Linked DNA regions of Homo sapiens: region 2 is linked to region 1. Evidence: promoter capture Hi-C in 16 types of primary human blood cells and fetal thymus (Javierre and others, 2016). All regions are on one chromosome and are shown on one strand. The core of a region is centred on a gene start or on the middle of the fragment in contact, and the rest is flanking DNA. Distances in the headings are between cores, read along the strand shown. Region 1 holds the start of PIWIL1 (piwi like RNA-mediated gene silencing 1). Region 2 holds the start of LOC107987176 (a long non-coding RNA gene).

Region 1 (5,966 bases), core at 2,084-4,583:
TTATTTTGGGATGATGAAAATGTTTTGGAACTAGAGGTGGGGGGTTGCGTAACATTATGAACGCATTAAATATCATGGAATTGTTCACTGTAAAATAGTTAATGTAGTGTTATGTGAATTTCACCTCAATTAAAAAAACAACAACAACAACAACCAAAGCCATCATGTGAGGCCCAGCAAATCTGAGCCCTCATTCTCTCCTGGTAACTGGCTAGGACTAAGCAGCCACTGGCCCTTCAGGTCAGCATCCACGTTCCCAATTGTCACACTCCCTGCTTCCCTTGTTGGGCCATCAGCGGGAGGGCAGAGTGTGTTTTATTCACATCAATGGGAGGACAGAGTGTGTTTTACTCACAGCACTTAACAGGGTGCGTTCGGCAGTCCAGATGCTCACATTTCCTTGCTCGCCAACTTCTAGAACCCGGTCTGTCCCTTCTGCAGCATCATCCCCTACGACTCCCCTGCCTGTGCCTGGCGTTGCTCCCGTGCTGGATGACTTGCAGTTTTCTAAACACCTCACATGTGCTCAGACCAACGTGCTCCGCCATGCCGATCCTCCTGTTCCCTGCAAACCCAAATCAGCCTTCAGGGCTTCAGCAGCGTTGAGTCACGAAGCATCCCTCAGCAACCTCCCGCTGAGCACCCACAGGATTGGTGGCACTCTGCTCACCTTCCCTGGTGGGTACACCCCTCTAGAGGCGGCTCCCGGAAAAAGAATCTGTAACTATTCATTTTTTAACTTCCAGAGTCAGGCACGAAGTTATACCTAGCAACGGATCCCAGAAGGGGTCCTGGTGGTGCTGTCAACATGGAAATTTTAAAGGTCACATTTTTTTTTCCTTGAATTTCTTTTCAAATTTTCGTTGAGTTTTCCTTTTCAAATTTTAGGTGAGCTTCTTGCGACATGATGTTTACACTCTCAGAAGAATGAGGGGTTTTGCCTCTGTCTTGCTATATCACAACTTATGTCTTTAGAAACTATTTCATACTTCACACACCAAGACACTCCAGCGATGTTCTTTAGCAGAGGCAAGTAAGGAGTTTAGCATATAGAGAAAATAAAGCAGAGGGAAAAGTGTTACTTCTATAGTGTAAGGTGCATTCACGGTATTTTTCTCCCGAGTTGAGGCTGTAAACATCTATTTCTTGTTTTATGGCTCCATCTGCTGGCAGGTCTCAGAATGTCTTTCTCATCAACACCTTAAATCCTTGGAAAAGTTATGTTCACATTGTATTCCAAAAGGCACCATTTAGTTTTTACAAAGCGAAAGCCTTTGGAAAGCTATTTTTCTTTCAAACTACTGGCTTCCAACGCCTTTTGGCCTCGCCCCAAATTTATTAGCCTTCTCTGAGCATAAGAATAACTTGATGTTACTTCTTGAAATTCCTTGCACCCGTCCCAGACCTCCTGGAATCAGCGTGATCTGGGAGTCTGTATTATTTGGAAGTTCCCTCAGTGGATGCTTACACTCAGGCTAGTGTGGGAAACGCTGACATCTAACCTGCCCCTTTCATGGCACAGATGAGACGTAGGATTTGGGAAGGTGGCTTGGGGAGCCTTCAGCCCTCTCCAGCCCCCGATTCCCAGGCATGCGCTTTTAAGTATGAATAATAAGCAATATGTAGGCCGGGCTCTGTGGCTTATGCCTGTAATCCCTGCACATTGGGAGGCCAAGATGGGTGGATCACTTGAGCCCAGAAGTTTGAGACCGGCCTGGGCAACATGATGAAACCCTCTTTCTACAAGAAATACAAAAAAATTAGCTGGGTGTATTTCTCGTATTTCTACAAGAAATACAAAAAAATTACTACAGGTGGCACACACCTGTAGTACCAGCTACAGGGGAGGCTGAGGCAGGAGGATCACCTGAGCCCAGGAGGTCGAGGCTGCAGGGAGCCATGATCCCACCATTGCACTCCAGCCTGACAGAGCCAGACCCTGTCTCAAAACAAAACAAAGAACACAAAATTATGTGGGCATGGTGGTGGGTGCCTGTAGTCGCAGCTACTCAGGAGGCTGGGAGACGGAGGTTGCAGTGAGCCAAGATCCTGCCACTGCACTCCAGCCTGGGCGACAGAGTGAGACTCCGTCTCACAAAAAAAAAAAAGGAAAAGCACTATGTTTACCGTATAAATGCAGTTTTAAAACCTGTCTGCAGAGGCGACCCTATTTCTACTACCTCCTACAATCATGTTTATAGTTATGGAACATAACAGGTCAGGCAGTTAGTGAGCCTCAGTCCCACTTCCACCTTGACAAATAAACCTGTTCTATCTTACAATATTTCCGGTTGTTTTGTGGCTGTTGACTTTGCCTCCATGAGGAAATTAACTCCTATGGAGGGCACCTAGCTCGGCGTAGACCCGGTCGCTACCACCTGCGATGCCTTGGAAATGCAGCCGGCGGGGCCCACCTGTGGAGCCTGCAGACCGGAATCTCTGGTCTGTGTCCTAACCAGCCCTGCAGGTGATCCCCCGCAGGTGAAGGCTGAGAACCCCTGCGGTCCACGTTGGCATGCACCCAAGGCACAAGTCATTGAAAGCTAAATTTCCAGGTAACGGCCTCCTGGCACCTTAGACTTGCATTGCAGTTTTATTTTCTTTGGGGTCAAAGTTCAAATCTCTGTGTGCTGAGTGAAAGAGCTTCCGACGTTAAAGGCCAGACCAAGATCGAGTCCACTGCTACAGTAGGGCGCTCGGTGCCCACGTGGGCACCATTTCGAAGTCTATGGAGGGTCTACTTCGTGCGCCGCCGCCCAGTTCCACGAGCTAGTAGGGAACTGGCCCGACCCCGTGTCCGCCTGCAGGGGGCTGGCACTGGGGGAACTGCAGGAGTCAAGCCAGGGAAGGCCGGGGGTCTGGGCGAAGCAGAAGAGGAACAGGGCGGGGCCTGGGTGGGGCTGGCCGGGGCCTGTGGGGAGGGGGCAGGGCACGTGTTGGGTGTCTGGGCGGGGCCAGGCGGGGTCTTGGGGGGACAGGGGCGGAGCCTGTGGGGCGGGGGCGGGGCCTGTGGGGGCCTGGGCGTGGCGTCTAGGCAGGGCCAGGCGGGGTCTTGGCGGGATGGGGGCGGGGCCTATGGGGAGGGGCCAGGGCATGTGCGGGGTGTCTGTCCGGGGCCAGGCGGTGTCTTGGGGGGCCAGGGGCAGGGCCTGTGGGGCGGGGCGGGCCTGGCTTGTTGGGCCTGTGCCGGGTGTCCGGGAGGGGCCAGACGGGGTCTTGGAGGGGCGGGGCCGGGGCCTGTGGGGCGGGGCTCCTCTGGTCCCGCCCCGGCCACATCAGAAACCGCCGTTTGCGGGGCAGCCAATGAGGGCGTGGCGCGCGCCGCTTTCCGCCGTTACTGGGCGTATGGCGTACAGACACGAGGCCGGCGCCCGGGAGGCGGTGTTCATCCGCCCGGGAAAAGAGCGCCTGTTGCTCGCTGCCCGCGTGTCCCTGGCTCTCTCGGGAACCCAGCGCCGAAGGCGAGGTGGGCGCGGGCCGAAGGAGGTCCTGGGAGGTCGGCGGCGCGGAGGGATCTCCGCGGGAGCCGTTGGGGCTGTTGGCCTCGGGCTGAGGTGCAAGGACCAGGACTAGGGCGAGGGCAGCGGTCCAAGGTGCGGGGCCAGGCTGAGGTGCTAGGTGTGCGGGGGCCGGGATGCGGGGGCGGCGGCTGGGGGTCCGGGATGTGGAGGTGAGGCTCGAGGTGCGGGGACCGGGTTGCGGGGGCGAGGTCCCAGGTGCGGGGGATGCAGGAGCCGGGTGCGGGGTCGAGGTCCCAGGTGCGGGAGATGCAGGAGCCGGGTGCGGGGGCGAGGTCCCAGGTGTGGGAGATGCAGGAGCCGGGTGCGGGGGCGAGGTCCCAGGTGCAAGGGATGCAGGAGCCGGGTGCGGGGGCGAGGTCCCAGGTGCGGGAGATGCAGGAGCCGGGTGCGGGGGCGAGGTCCCAGGTGTGGGAGATGCAGGAGCCGGGTGCGGGGGCGAGGTCCCAGGTGCGGGAGATGCAGAAGCCGGGTGCGGGGGCGAGGTCCCAGGTGTGGGAGATGCAGGAGCCGGGTGCGGGGGCGAGGTCCCAGGTGCGGGGGATGCAGGAGCCGGGTGCGGGGGCGAGGTCCCAGGTGTGGGAGATGCAGGAGCCGGGTGCGGGGGCGAGGTCCCAGGTGCGGGGGATGCAGGAGCCGGGTGCGGGGGCGAGGTCCCAGGTTTGGGAGATGCAGGAGCCTGGGGTGCAGGGGCCGGGGTGCGGGGGCGATGTATCAGGTGTGGGGGGTGCGGGGCCGGGGGGAAGCGCTGAGGCCCGACTTGCCGGGGCTGTAGGGCCGGGGTGCGGGGGTGCAGGGGCCGGGGTGCGGGGGCGAGGTCCCAGGTGCAGGGGCCGGGGTGAGAGGCTGAGGCCTGAGTTGCCGGGGGTGCGGGGGCGGAGGTCTCCGCATTGGCGGCCGTGCGTGAGACTGCGGGGACCTGAGAGCTCTGCAGGAGGGCCTTCGGGACCTCCCGCACTACCCACGCGGCCGCGGGGCGCGATCTCTGCGGAGGGCGAGGGCCCCTTCCCGCGTCCGCCGCCGCTGCGCTGCGCCCCCGGGAGCCTTGGGAGCCGGACGTTGGGAAGAGGACGGAACTCCGGAGGACCCCAAGTGAGGCGGCGACCGCGACGGCCGGGCTCTGCGAGGCCCGGGGGTCCTCGCGGGTGCTGGCGGCCCGGCCCTTGGCACCTGTGGAGGGAAAGGGGCGGCGGGGCGGTGGCGTCCTGGGATGGATGCTCTCGCCGTCTTCAGCCCCGGCGGCCTCCAGGGCAAAGCCGGCTGCACCCCTGCGCAGCCTGTTCTCTGAGCGCTTTTCTTTTCGTTTTTAAGTTGTGGCCAGAGAGACCCCGCTCGCATAGAATGTACCGCTCAACGGTTTTTAGGCGTGTGGCGCGGTGGTGGTTCCCACGTGCACGGCGTGGTCCTGAGCTCAGCGCCGGAGGGACGTTAGGTGGAAGCGTCTTTGGCAGAGCTGGTAGCGAATCGGAGAGGTGATTTCCAGCGAGTGTGGTTATTGGAAGCACACACTTGCTTTCTGACTTTAAGAATTCAATATCCAGACTGAGGTGGTTTTGAAACTGGAAGGAGATAAAGCTGAAAACCAGAGTTGTGCTGGGAAACCTGGACGTAGAGCGCTGAGCCCCCCAGGTATTTAGTGACCAGCACAGCGCGCCGCCGTGGGTTTCAGGCCCTGGAGATGATGAGAATCAGCTGGAGGGCTGCTTCCAGTCGGCTTCTAACTCGGGAGGGCTGAGAGCCGCTCCCCACCCCGTAATTTCTGTTCCCAGCCAGTCCAGATGCTGCCCGTCAGGGACCAGGCTTTGAGAACTGACGTGCTGCTTTAGGAATATTTCCTGCTGGAGATGAGAGTTCAGCTTGTCACTGTTTTTTAATCACTGTTTCACACCGTTGTTTGTAAGGTGTCAAGCGACGGACTGGGTGCAAAGGCATCAATTGTGATTCGCAGCCTAGTTGGAGAAGCTATGGAGTGCAGAGATGTGGGGAGGGAGAAAACAGGTTACCATGTAGTAGGGTGACCGTGGTCACGCCGGGGAAACGGCTTTCGGAGAAGGGAGCAAGGGATGGCCTGCGAGCTGGTCCTTAAGCGGTTCACTGGATTCTTGTGGTTTCAGAGGAGGGTGAGGCTTTGTTAGCAGAGGGTGTGCCACGGTGTAGGGTGAGTCACGGAATTGATAGTGATAGGAAGCAAGTTGTGTTTGCTGGAGTCTCAAGCGGATGCTTTCAGATTGATTTGTAGATCAGCAGTCCCCAGTCTTTTTGGCACCAGGGACCGATTTCCTGGAAGACAATTTTTCCACGGACCGGTGAGGGATGGTTTCGGGATGAAACGGTTCCACCTCGGATTATCAGGCATTAGATTCTCATAAGGAGCAGGCAGCCCAGACCCTTGGCACGCCGACTTCACAGTAGGGTTCTCACTCCTAGGAGAATCTAATGCCTCCACTG
Region 2 (5,966 bases), core at 2,001-4,500, 2.1 Mb before region 1:
TGGTGATAATGGTGATGATGATGATGATGCAAATACAGTTAAGGAAATACCAGTGTGATTACTTCCATTTGTAACCTAATCCGAAGCTTCGTTAACCTAATTCCTATAGTAAATTGATCATTTGCTGGCCTTGAACCCTAGCGGAAGGGTGAAGGGTAGAGATTCTACTCTGTGGGTCTTAACCACAAATGTGAGAGGAGTCTGGGCATCCAACAGGTACCACGTGGAGAATGGGATGATAAGCAGGTATGGGCATTTGAGCATCACTCTTAAAAGTTGTTTTCACAGGCCAAAAGTCACCTGCATCTTGCATCTTATCTAGGGATGCTGGGCCCATGTCCTCTTCAGGGTCGATTAAGCTCCATACAGGCTGAGTTCAAGTAGCAGTGCCAGAGAAGCACAAGGGTCTCAAGAGGTTGTCTGGGATGGTAAGTGGAAGTTACAAAGGGACAATTCTTCAGTGCTTGTTTAAAATAAAAGGGCCCAACAAGTGAAACCTGACACAAAGAGAGACCTAGCAAGTGAGACCTAACACAAGTTTCCTAGACATCTGGTGTAGGAAACAGGCACACCTGAGCACACACCTATCAGTCTAGTGAATGGTTGCGAATGTGGACTTTGAAGTCAGATGGTCTAGATTGAATCCCAGCTCAACCACTTCCTAGATGAGTGGCATTGAACTAGCCACTTCACTTCTTTGACATCAGTTTTCTTATGTGTGAACTGGAGATAACAAGAGTACATGTTCATAGGGTTGTTAATGAGATATTTGGCAATTAGGAAGTACCTAATAAATGTTAATTGTTATTATCATCATCATCACTATTAACAGCTAAATGAACTAAAGGTAAAATGAGTGATTCTGAGATTCCTCATTAGTAAAGTAGGGCTAATAGTCTATGGATTTACAGTATTCATTCATTGGACAAGGACTTATCTTCACATACACACTTGTTTTAGGGGATAGGAATACAGGGGTGAGCACGTCAGACATTGTCCCCTCATGGAGTTGACATGGAACGAGGAATGAGCAAGCAAACAAATAAAGGAACAAGGGCAGACAGCGAATGGCCCCCAATAAATGTTCCCTAAATATATTTTCATTAGATGGAATAAAGGCTGGAATCTTTATCCACACGGAGAGAGGAAGAATGTATTATTTCTACATTCCACACCTCTGACTCCTCTCTACCTTAGCCAGACTTAGACCTGGAGTTAATGAAAGAGGGGATGACATATGGCTTACGGTTCGTACCAATGCAATACTCAATTTGCCTTAGGGTTGGTGGTCATAAACTGGCCCGGCTCCTTCCAGGGGGTGCAGAGAGCTGATTTTCAATGTATGGGCTGTCACATACCAGCAAGTGGCTTAATCTCCTCTATGAGCCTCAGTTTCCTCATCTGTACCAATGTACCAACCAAGGTCACTCACCCCCTCTCTTCCTCACCTCCATAAAGAGAACCCTCAGGTACCCAGTTGTTTGGGCCAAAACAGTGGCCTCTTCTTTCCCTCCCACAGTCCACACCCATCCATCAGCACATCCTGCTGGCTTCACTTCCACTAGGCATCATTAACTGGTCCTTGTCTCGACTTCACAGCTTTGCTCCTCTTACTCCAGTGCAAGCATCCAAGACTCCTGGGTGCCTTGAACCAGCTCTTAATTAGACTTCAGGCTTCCTTGGCTACTCCTATAGGCTGTGGTCTACAATTGGCCAGAGTGATCCTTCTGAAAGAAAAATAAGACCTTTCAGGACTCCAGCTTAGTGTCTTTGCACTTTCATTTTTATCAGCCTGAGAAGCTCTTTTCCCAAAAATTGCTCTCACTTCACCCACCTTCCTAAAGTTGCACCCCCAAATCAGACTTTTCCCTTATTTTGCTTTATTTTTGTTCACAACACATATCACTGCATTAACAGATACAATTACTTGTATATTACTTTAGAGTCTGCATCCTCCACTAGAATGTAAGGTCCATGAATTTAGGACTCTCGTCTATTTTGTTCACTGGCAAAACCCCAAAATTTGGGCCTGACAAATAGTAAGCAAGTGACACCTATTTGTTAAATGAATGAATGAATGAATAAAATGTCCAAGGATAATAATAATACACCCCACGAGTGTGAAGAGGATTAAATCAGATAGTGCCTATATGTTTTAAGAACAATGACAGGACACAGAACTAAGCATAGACCTTTCTATCATTTTTCTCCCTTTTTTCCTTCTTCCTCATTTTTTAATCGCTAATAGTAAGCACCATAGTCAGGACTTGATACTCAGTTTGCGGGATGACCATAGCTGTTTCATGAGGCCAACATATAGCCTTTCTTTTCCATGTCCTCGGCAATATATACCCATATGTCCCGTCTACAGGTAGACAATGCAAGAAGCCTTTGAACTAAAATCACAAGTTCCACCCCTCATTTTATGCGATATTCACAATTTAACATTTAAGCATGAACAAAACAATCTGAAGTTGCCTCATTGACTTAGGAACCCTGAAACCCTGTGGAAGCAGCAGGTTTCCTCTTTCCAATCATTCTCCTCTCCCATAAATTATGTTAAGTGCTTCCATGTGCCCACAGTCCTTAAGGAATTCTGCAACAGCCTTTGAGGAGATTAGAAGCCTCTGATGTTCCTTATGAAATTCAGAAAACCATCTGGAAGTAATCTAAGTTAAGGAATTAATGATTTGGGGGTTAAATGATACATGACTTAAAAAAAATAAATACAGAAAACTTTATTAGCCCATGAACCTCAATTTTTGTGGATTTACCTATGAAAGAGAAATTGACTATATCATCTGTTTTATTTGTTTGTTCAGTTTTGTGTGCATGTTTGTTTGACTGCTCTTGAGAGGGACACGCAATAGATTAAATGGAGTCCTAAAGGAAGGTTTGCAGAGAAGCTTTCATTTGCTGGGTCTCCTGAAGGCTCTCACAGGGGATGCCCGGAGGCATCATAGTCTCAAGGGGCATCTGTGATTCAGGATCACCTGAAGACAGTGGCTGCCTTTGGGGTGCTGTGCAGTGAGCTTATCTGATTGAGAATCCTTTCCCCACTCCAACCCCATGTTGAATTAGTATTTATTTTGCTGTGGCTTGTTTGGTAGCCCCTGGTTTTGATTATTTGCATCACAGAGATGTAGTCCAGGACCTGACTTGTCTTTGCAGTAGGGACAGCAATGTTCTGTGCCAAAAGGAAAGAAATGATGTGGAAAGAAGGTACATTATGAGGCTGCATAGAACAGGGGAGTGGAGGGCACTTCTTTGGGTTTTTATTTTTTGTCCCTGTTATCCAATAGGGAGGAGAGAGGATAAGGCAGATTCCCATCCTCAGTTACAAACAATGGGACATGTGTATTTCTCCCTCATGCTGGGAACATTTAAATGAAAAAAAAATTATTCCCCGGTGATGTTCAGGCTCAAAGCACTGAGAATAAAACGTACCTTCCGTTTTAGGAGCCCAAATCTACTTTACAACTGCCCCCTGCCCCCAAGGTCAGGTCTACACTAGCTGAATGTACTGAAGAATTGGGCGATTATCAGCATAATCCACTTTAAAAATCAAGTCTCTGCTATCCAGGCCTATGAGAATCAAGCTTTTACCGTTCCCTTTGGGGCCTGGATAGTTTTCAAGCTGCCTTCTCCTCACATCATGTGAGTAGAGCCGGCCAAGAAAACCAGGGAGACATCTCCCCCCAGCCTGGCCCAGACTTCCGGGCCCCACCCCAGGAGAGAGCCTCCCACTCTGGCCAGTGCCCTGCAAAGCCTTCGCCCCACCCCGCCCCAATTTCTCCTTATGCCTGGCTCATTCCTTAGGGGCTGAGTTGGGAGATAAGACTTGGGGTTGCAGTTGCTGGGGATCATTCGTTTACATTTCTTTTCTTTCAATCAAGGACTTCTTTTTTTCTTTTGAAATTCTTTCCTGCACTGATGGTGAGAAAAGACCCCTCAGGCTTCCTTTTGATGTTGGACCGAGCCAGCCCACGGTGAGAGGGGATGCTGAGCCCGTGGTGAGGAGCTCAGGACAGGAGGGGACGTCCAGAGACCTCCGAACCCATGGCCCTTCATTCCCAGTCACAAGGGGGGAGTCGGGGTCCCGCCCTCAAACTGCTCAGACCACGCGTGGCAGAAAGAGCAGAGCATGAGCATCAGGAACCGCACAGGGAAGCCGCTGAGATCACCTGGGATCACCACCATGAGGGAGGCCAGCCCTGGAGAAATCAGAGGGAAAAGATAGAGAGAACGAAGTCGGGGGGGGGGGGGGGAGGGCGGATCTTCCTTGTCTGAGTCTGCAGAGAAATTGCCTATTGCAGGAGCAAGTCTAGAGAGGGGCTATTCTCCACCCACTGAAAAGATAATAAAACACATGCTATGGGCGGCGGGGAGATGATTGGGGAGTGGAAGCCCCACAGACATGCAGTGAAAAATGATCCTTTCTTCCCCTCTGCGTTCTCGTCCCCTTCCCAGAGACACCGCTGTGATCTCGTGCCTCGCCCCCTCCGCACACGCACAGGTGCACACCCGCATCTGTCTTGAGCCCGCACCCCGCCTTCACGCTCCGCTGCGCGCTGCTTTTCCGCGCTCAGTGATCCAGTTAGGAGCTCTCCCCGCAGCAGCTGCGCGGGACTTTGCATTCCAGATGTCCCCAGCCCTCCAGGCTAAAGCAGCGGCCACCTGAAGTTGAGGAATGGGGCGTGACGACCACCAGGTCCCGCAGTGACCACGGGAGGGTGGGGAGAAGGAGTCCAGCTCCGCCTTGAGCGTCGGGTCCCTGGGCAGGACCCTCCGGGCCACGGGCCGCTGTCCGTTGGGCACCCGGGCAGGAGTCTGCGAACGCTGAGTTTCTCTGGAAAGGCGCGGACCCCCGGAGGAGCCGTCCCAGCCGCCTGGGGAGACGCCCCCTCCTCTCCCGGTCTTCTTTCCCGGGCACACCCTCCCTAGCCCGGGCGGGGGGGTTCTCCATCTGCCGCCCCTCCCGGCGGGCAGGCGAACTCTCTCCTACCGCACCCTCAATCTGTCCGCGGTCGCGGGGCTCGGCGGGGGCGGGGCCCGGGCGGGGGCGGGGGCGGGGCCGGGGGCGGGGCGGGCCGGCGGCTGCGGAGGCTGCGGAGGCTGCGGGAGAAAAGTTGTCCCGGCCGGAGCGCGAGCAGCGGCGGAGCCGGAGCCGCCAGAGCCAGAGCCGGAGCTGCGGCGGCGTGGACCCGGCAGGGGCGGGCCTCGGACAGCAGAGACGCAGCGGGCCCGGCCGACCGGGCTGCGGGAGTGGCCCCGGGCATGGGGCGGCCGGCGGGGGCCGCGGGCGGGCGCTGCGCTTCGGGCTGGCGGCGGGCTGCGTGAGCGGCCGGGACGCAGGATGCGCTCCGAGGGTGCGGCCCCCGGGCCGGCGGCGCCGCTGTGCGGGGCGCTGAGCCTGCTGCTGGGCGCGCTGCTGGGCAAAGGTAAGGCCGGGGCGGGTGCCTGGCGCGCCGACGCATGCGAACTTCCCGGTTCCGGGGGAGCTCGGGGTGAGGGCAGCCGAAGCGAGGGGTGCGGCGGGGGCCTCGGCGGGGGCTCGGATCCCATCAACAGCGCCTCTGCGGGTGCCGAGCCGCCCCTAATCCAGAAGGGCGCTCCCAGCTGGGCGCCGGGATCCGGGCAAGTTAGGCTGGTCCCGAGTCCCGAATCTCCCACCCCGGACCCCCCAGACCCAGAGCTGCCCCGCGGATGAGGAGGGGGCGTGGCTGAGGGACACGGTGTTTGTTCCCCATCCCTGAGTTCCGTGCGGACCTGCCCCAGCCCCAGCACAGTCACCCTGTGGAACTGGCATCCAGGAGAGGTGCTCCGCTCTGTGCGCTCCTTCCTCCCGGCTGTGTGCTCCCTGTCCACAGCTCCCCATCCACAGCTTCGGCACTGTGGGGCTGGTGCTCCAGGAGGGAAGGCCCGGTTCTTTGCATCCCCTTTCCGCAACCGCTAGGGTCTCTGTG

Evidence for each region. The method cuts DNA at HindIII sites, captures the fragments that hold promoters and counts their contacts. A CHiCAGO score of 5 or more calls a contact.
Region 2: a contact is called between a fragment that was not itself captured here and the fragment with the promoter of PIWIL1 in region 1, in 1 of 17 cell types (naive B cells). The highest score is 5.6, in naive B cells.

Annotation. Positions count from the first base shown.
Region 1 is chr12:130,334,554-130,340,519 of GRCh38, forward strand. PIWIL1 (piwi like RNA-mediated gene silencing 1) reads left to right here and starts at 3,334. Exons shown (of 21, transcript NM_004764.5): 1 at 3,334-3,593. LOC101927786 (a long non-coding RNA gene) reads right to left here and starts at 1,687. Exons shown (of 3, transcript XR_242978.5): 1 at 356-1,687. RefSeq lists an enhancer at 458-627. The HindIII fragment of the contact is 10,112 bases long and covers 1-5,966 here.
Region 2 is chr12:128,262,047-128,268,012 of GRCh38, forward strand. LOC107987176 (a long non-coding RNA gene) reads right to left here and starts at 4,986. Exons shown (of 2, transcript XR_001749176.1): 1 at 4,525-4,986; 2 at 901-1,727. TMEM132C (transmembrane protein 132C) reads left to right here and starts at 5,124. Exons shown (of 9, transcript NM_001136103.3): 1 at 5,124-5,441. The coding sequence starts at 5,357. RefSeq lists enhancers at 4,270-4,791, 5,327-5,966. The HindIII fragment of the contact is 693 bases long and covers 2,905-3,597 here.